Linked DNA regions of Homo sapiens: region 1 is linked to region 2. The links are contacts of gene promoters, found by promoter capture Hi-C in human tissues and cell types (Jung and others, 2019). All regions are on one chromosome and are shown on one strand. Each heading gives the region's core, a stretch centred on a gene start or on the middle of the fragment in contact. The rest is flanking DNA. Distances are from core to core; before and after follow the strand shown.

The links. Contacts are between HindIII fragments. The study calls those that stand out against the background at their distance.
Region 1: a fragment that was not itself captured here is called in contact with the fragment with the promoter of DIP2C in region 2 in 1 of the 25 tissues and cell types used here (pancreas).

The regions. Positions count from the first base shown.
Region 1 is chr10:128,449-131,690 of GRCh38, forward strand. It overlaps a transcript of ZMYND11 not described here. Among named protein-coding and RNA genes, the nearest start is that of ZMYND11, 5.4 kb to the right of the region's middle. The HindIII fragment of the contact is 6,236 bases long and covers 1-3,242 here.
Region 2 is chr10:688,007-690,971 of GRCh38, forward strand. It overlaps DIP2C (disco interacting protein 2 homolog C), which reads right to left and starts at 1,662. Exons shown (of 37, transcript NM_014974.3): 1 at 1,488-1,662. The coding sequence starts at 1,572. RefSeq lists an enhancer at 2,037-2,965. The HindIII fragment of the contact is 17,538 bases long and covers 1-2,965 here.

The DNA of each region.
Region 1 (3,242 bases), core at 84-2,583, 560 kb before region 2:
ATTTGGCACTGTAATTATTTACATTTCATTTTATTGTTCTCCTAGATATTTACTTTCTACCATTTCCCCTGCGAGATCTAATGTGTTTACTATATTTTTCTCTAGGTCTTTAAGGGATTTATCACTGGACAATTTATTAAGACATAGTTTTCTTCAAATAATAGAAGAATACAAATGGACGTTTTATACTTTACTACTTCTAGAAGACAGTTTCCTATGAACTATTTATTTATGTGTTTATAAATGTTTATTTATTTAAATGTTCCTATCCCATCAGCCTTTTTACAATTTCTCTGAGCTTTGTTTGTATTAAAAACTTAAAACATACATAAAGATAACATCAGTTTTAATTTTATGCCAATTAACCAAACCCAAAGAAAGCTTTTATGAAAATTAACAAACGGGAGAATCCTTCAGAACAACAGAAAATTCCAAAGGCATCAGTGGTAAATACTGTGATGATTTCTTAAACATTAATTTGCATGGGAACATGAGTAATCACAACTGTGAGAAAGCTGAAGGAAGAGAATGAAAATCTTAAATGCTATATACCACAGTACTGGGTTTTAAAGAAACTAAAAGGCCGGGCGCAGTGGCTCACGCCTGTAATCCCAGCACTTTGGGAGGCCGAGGCGGGCAGATCACGAGGTCAAGAGATAGCGACCAACCTGGTCAACATCGTGAAACCCCGTCTCTACTAAAAACACAAAAATTAGCTGGGTGTGGTGGCGCGCTCCTGTAGTCCCAGCTGCTCGGGAGGCCCAGGCAGCAGAATCGCTTGAACCCGGGAGGTGGAGGTTGCAGCGAGCTGAGATTGCACCACTGCACTCCAGCCTGGCAGCAGAGCCAGACTCCGTCTCAGAAAAGAAAGTAAAAAAATTCCCGCACAGATTCTCATTTGCCATTGCCACAAATAGGTGGCAATGAGAAGGGAATTTCTGTAAAATGTAACATGGAAGAGGCATGTTCACAGCTCTGTGTTCAGATATGATCACTGACATGTGTGTATAGACCTTAGTAATGATGGCCAAGTGCAGGTGCCTCTTTTTGTTTTAATGTAAGTTCACTGCATGAAACTCTCCATAAGCTGAGAGTGGAGCCTATGACTAAATTTTGTCCTTCCTAAAAAGTGAAAACATGTTGGAAAGGTATCCCTGACAAGAGGTTGGAGGAAGTATATAAACATGTAAGTGTGCATTTTCTGGTACTTGAAATGTTTAAATGAAGAAGAGAATAACTTCTCAAGATATGACAGCAATTATCCCCATGCCTCTGTATATTGTGAATCCAAGAATAAGTCTCTTAAAGAGTCCTGGCTTCCATCCCAGGGGAAGAAGTTTTCTGCAGGGAAGCAGCGGTGTGATAGTGCCTGCAGAGAGGCCAGGCATCATTAAGTGCGGTGAGGAAGAAAGGAAGCCAGGGGAAAAGAGAAATAGGACCAGAAAGTATATCTGATAAGAGAGCTTTTGAAGAACAGAGCAGAAACAACAGGATTTCCAGGAACAGAGGCCGGTATAGCATTGGAATTCATAGAATTTTAGTACTAATGGGAACCTTGTGCGAATTGTAAACCTCCATCATTTACAGAGAAGGGAACTGAAGCTGGGAGAGGTTGCTACGTGCCAAAAGTTACATAACTAGTCAGAAGCAGAGTCTGGGGAAGTGGCTGCTGGAACTGCAGTTCTGAAAAACAAACAACAAACAAACAAACAAAAAACCTAAGAGAGTCAACACAGGCTGAAATTGTTTCTTCTGTTCCAGGTAATGGCAATTCATCTGGAGCTAAAGATCAAAAGCCAGGAGGAAATCCCCAGGATCCAGCCTGGGTTGGGCTGCTGGGTCTGTGGGGAGCAATGAGGAACTGGAGATGCACCTGCAATTAATCAGGTACATTCTTGTGTCCTTAGGTGTCTTCGCTTTGTTGTGCTGTGTGCTCGACTACGGGACGTGGTAGAAGGGGAGCTCCTTTTGTGTCAGGCATTTCACAATATTTGGCCCGTTTAATATTCATCATTACCATTTTACAGATAATAATAATTGTAGCCACTAATACTGAAGTTATTCCAAGCAGGCAGTATTATAATTTTACATGCATTTTCTCATTTAATCCTCTCAATGACCACTATGAAATCGTATATTATTCCCATTTCACAGATGAGGAAAATGAGACATAAATTGGTAAATAACTTGTCCAAGGTCAATAGCTAGAGAATGGTGGAGTTAGGACTCTAATCCAAGCAATCTGATGTTAGAAAATCATACTCCTGAAAAACAGGGAAACCAAGGTTCAAAAAGGTGAAATCACTTGAATGTCTCACAGTGAGTTGGAATTTGGACTCAGGTGCACTAGTGCATATTCTTCTACATCATGCTATAGAAGAGAGTCGGGGCCGGGCACGGTGGCTCGCGCCTGTAATTCCAGCACTGGGGAAGCCAAGATGGGCAGATCACTTGAGCTCAGGAGTTCGAGACCAGCGTAAGCAACATGGCGAAACCCCATCTCTACCAAAAATACAAAATTAGCTGGGCACGGTGGCATGCACCTGTGGTCCCAGCTGCTCGGGAGGCTGAGGTGGGAGGATCGCTTGAGCCCAGGAGTGGATGTTACAGTGAGCCAAGATGGTGCCACTGCACTCCAGCCTGGGTGACAGAGTGAGCCCTATCTCAAAAAAAGGAAAACAGGGACCAGGGAGACAGGGAAAAGGTTAGAATCACAATTTTGAAGGAAAGAAGGCACACACATACACAAACATCTGTTTTTCATCTTGTGTGATGAGTTGCCCTTGAAAAGACAGGATCCTACTTTTCCTTAAATGTTTTGAAGCATATTAACCTGAGTATGGGAGGACCTACTTCTAACAAATACTGTACATTCATGGACAGAAGTGGGGAACTGAATTTCAGAAGCCACAGCTATGGAGCCCTGAAGAGATGCCCGGAGCCTGGGTTTCAAGGCCCACAGGCACTGGAACTAGGCCTGGCAAGCACTGTCAGCTCAGCTCCTCGGTTGCTGTGTAGTAAAAAGCTGCCACTTAAGTATTGGAAGAATCATGGCTTTCAATGGAAATGGATTTCTTATACTGACAGTTTCTCCTGGAGAACGTCTTGCTCTGTTGTCCAGGCTGGAGTGCAGGGATGCAATCATAGCTCACTGCAGCCCTGACCTCTTGTGCTCAAGCCATCCTCCTCCCTCAGCTTCTCGAGTAGCTGCGACTACAGGAGTGAGCCACCACATCTGGCTA
Region 2 (2,965 bases), core at 412-2,911:
TGGGCCGAGACGCAAGCCGGGAAACCTACCCAAGGCTGACACAATCAGATAACCAGGGTGGGCCTTTTGCAAATGATACACTCCTTACCCACCAAACGAGCTGTCTGCACTGCACAATCTACTTACCAGTTTACATCCGAACCCTGCACACGGCAGCTCCCGCCTCCTAGCCATGCCCTCCTCATCCTCAGCTCCTCAGGAGGGCAGCAGCCAAGCCCACAGGCCTGGAAGACTCTGCCCCCCGCCAACTGTGTCACGTTACAGGACACTGACACACCTCGCGGAACCCCACATCTGAAACTGAAAAACAGTACCATTTCCCGTCCCCAGAAGTCTGGAAAGGCAGTTGGCTGCACACCATGGCCCCTGCTCACTCCCTTCTTTGCCCTGAAAGTGTTAAAAAGGAAAACATAAAGTCAACACCAGCTCCTCCCTGCCGGTGAAAATTGGCACGAATGAGTTTACTTTCTGGCTGCCGGCCCTCACAAAACCGTTACCCAAAAAAAGTTCACCATGCTAAACTGCTCCAAATATAAATGTGAGACGCGCCGGCCCACCCCCACCCCACCCCACGTTACAGGAATGGCCTGACCAGGATGAGCCCAGAGACGGCTAAATGCACATCAAACATTTCAGATTTGGGAACTTCAGTGGTTTTGGGGAAAAGACCTGGCAAAGCCCGATCTGAAACTTATGACAGTTGAGCACATGATCTCCGCCATGAAGAGCAAATAAGAGGCGTACACAACCCTCCATAAGACCGCGGTGGCTGATCTGCCACAAACCCTCCTACGAGAGGACCAGGACGGCAAGGCCGGAGCCCGGCCCGGGGGGAGGTTGACGATTCCGCCCAGCCCTCCCCGCGCAGCGCCCGCGAACAATGGGGGTGGGATCCCCCGGGCCGCGCCAGGACCGCTGCACGGCCTGAGCCACCAGAGATCGAACCCGGGGTCCAACGACAAGTTTCGCATTGAAATCTGGCCGGGCGTTCCAGGCCGAACCCGCCAGCGAGGAGGTGGCGCGCACCGCGCTGCTGCACCAAGGACGCCGCGGCTCCAGCGCAGAGCGCACGGGAAGGCCGATCCCGCCGGGCCCGCTGCATCCTGCGTCCCCGCGCGGCGCCCAGGCCCCACAGACACCCCCAGGGCGCGGGGGGATCGCGGCCCCACAAACATCCCAGGGCGCGGGGGATCGCGGCCCCACAAACACCCCCAGAGCGCGAGGGGATCCCAGGCCCCACAGACACCCCCAGGGCGCGGGGAATCGCGGCCCCACAAACGTCCCCAGAGCGCGGGGGATCGCGGCCTCACAAACGTCCCTAGGGCGCGGGGTCTGGGGGTCCGGGGGACGCGCACGCTCCGGGCTGGGGTCGCACCTCCCCCTCCGGGCCCGGCCCCCGCCCCGCCGCAGGCCCCGCGCCCCCAGCCCTCCGCGCGCGGCCCTCCCCGGTGACAGCGCGGCCCGGCCCGGGGCGGGGGCCCGGTTACCTTCCGACAGCTCCAGCTCCAGCTCGGCCAGGCGCGCCCGCACCTCCAGGGGCAGCGCCATGCCCTCCAGGCTGCGGTCCGCCATGCTCCGCGGGCGCCGCGCCCCGCACGGCCTCCTCTTTGTTCGCAGGCGGAGGTCTCGGCGGCTCCTCGCGCCCGGCGGAACCGCACCGAGGAGGAGGCGGCGGCGCGGGCGCGGGAGGCGGGCGGCGGGCGCGCAGGGACCTCCCTCCCCTCGGCGCCTCCTCAGCGCGGCCCCGCCACGGCCGCCTCGCGCGCCCCCGCGCCCCACGGTCCCCGGCCCGCCCCGCGCGCGCTCGGCCCCTCCCCGCAGGCGCTGCGGACCCGGACCCGGCCCTGCTGCTCTCGGCCCCGGCCCGGCGGGAGCGTCTCTGCGCGCGCGCGTCACGGGGCCGCGGGGGCAGGGCGCGCGCGCGCGGGGCGCGAGGACGCGCAGGAGCGGGAGCGCGCGGGGGGGCGCGCGGCCGCGTCGGCGAAGCGCGCGCTCCCGGGGGCGCGCTCGGGGGCGGGTTGGGGGCTCGGGGCCCGCGGGGCGGGGCGGGGCGGGGCGGTCTTGTCTGTCCTGGGCTCTGCGCGTCCAGCGGAGCCTGCGGGCCCGGCCCCAGAGCCTGGTCCACCCGGCTCCCTGCGAAAATCACGTCCTGGAGCCGCAGCTTGACGTCTGCGCGAAAACTCGCAGTGCCCCGGGTCTTGGAGGGCTGGTTTTTTGTTAATGAACATTTTAAGAGGCGGAGACGGAGCGCTAGGCTGGAAGTTTCGAATGCAACGACCAGCAGATGACCTTGAGCGACTCTGAGCCTTTGCCTGGAGGGTCAGTGTCCCCATCTGTGAAAAGGGGATGGGAAGACAAGGTTGGGTCACCTAATCTCCAAATGCCAGGTGGGCCCGAAAAGCCTGGCTCCAGCCCTCCCGGAACAGGCTGCAGGCCCCAGGGTTCCCACCGTCCTTCTCCTTGTGGGGCCATCAGCTCCCAGCCTCAGTGCCACCTCGGCGAGGCTGAAGCCCCGTCTGTGCCTCTAGTCCTGACCATCTGGGGAGGCCCTCGCATCTCCAACCGTCCACTGAGCAAACTTCCCTGGAAGCCCCTAGACACCCCAAACGCCACAAACCCTAAATGAAGCCAGCTGCTTCCAGTGACTCTTAGTCACTGGAAGTTCTGCTTCTCAGAACCGCCCCCGTTGTCTTCATCATCACCTTCCTCTGTCTCCACACATCCTCCCCAGTCTGTTGCACAAAGCCCCGACGACCTGGCCTCCTTTTCATCCTTGTACCCCCTCTTCCCAGCCCGGCCCCTCCCTTAGGCCCAGAGCTTCCTAAAGACCTCCTCGCCTCCCCGTCCTCCACGGGACATTGGCCAGCGCTGGCTCCCGGAGGCCCAGCTGCACTCACTCCCCTTTCAGAGTGGGCCGCAGGAACACAGGTCCCCCACCTCACCCCCCTACCCCTACCCCCCACCA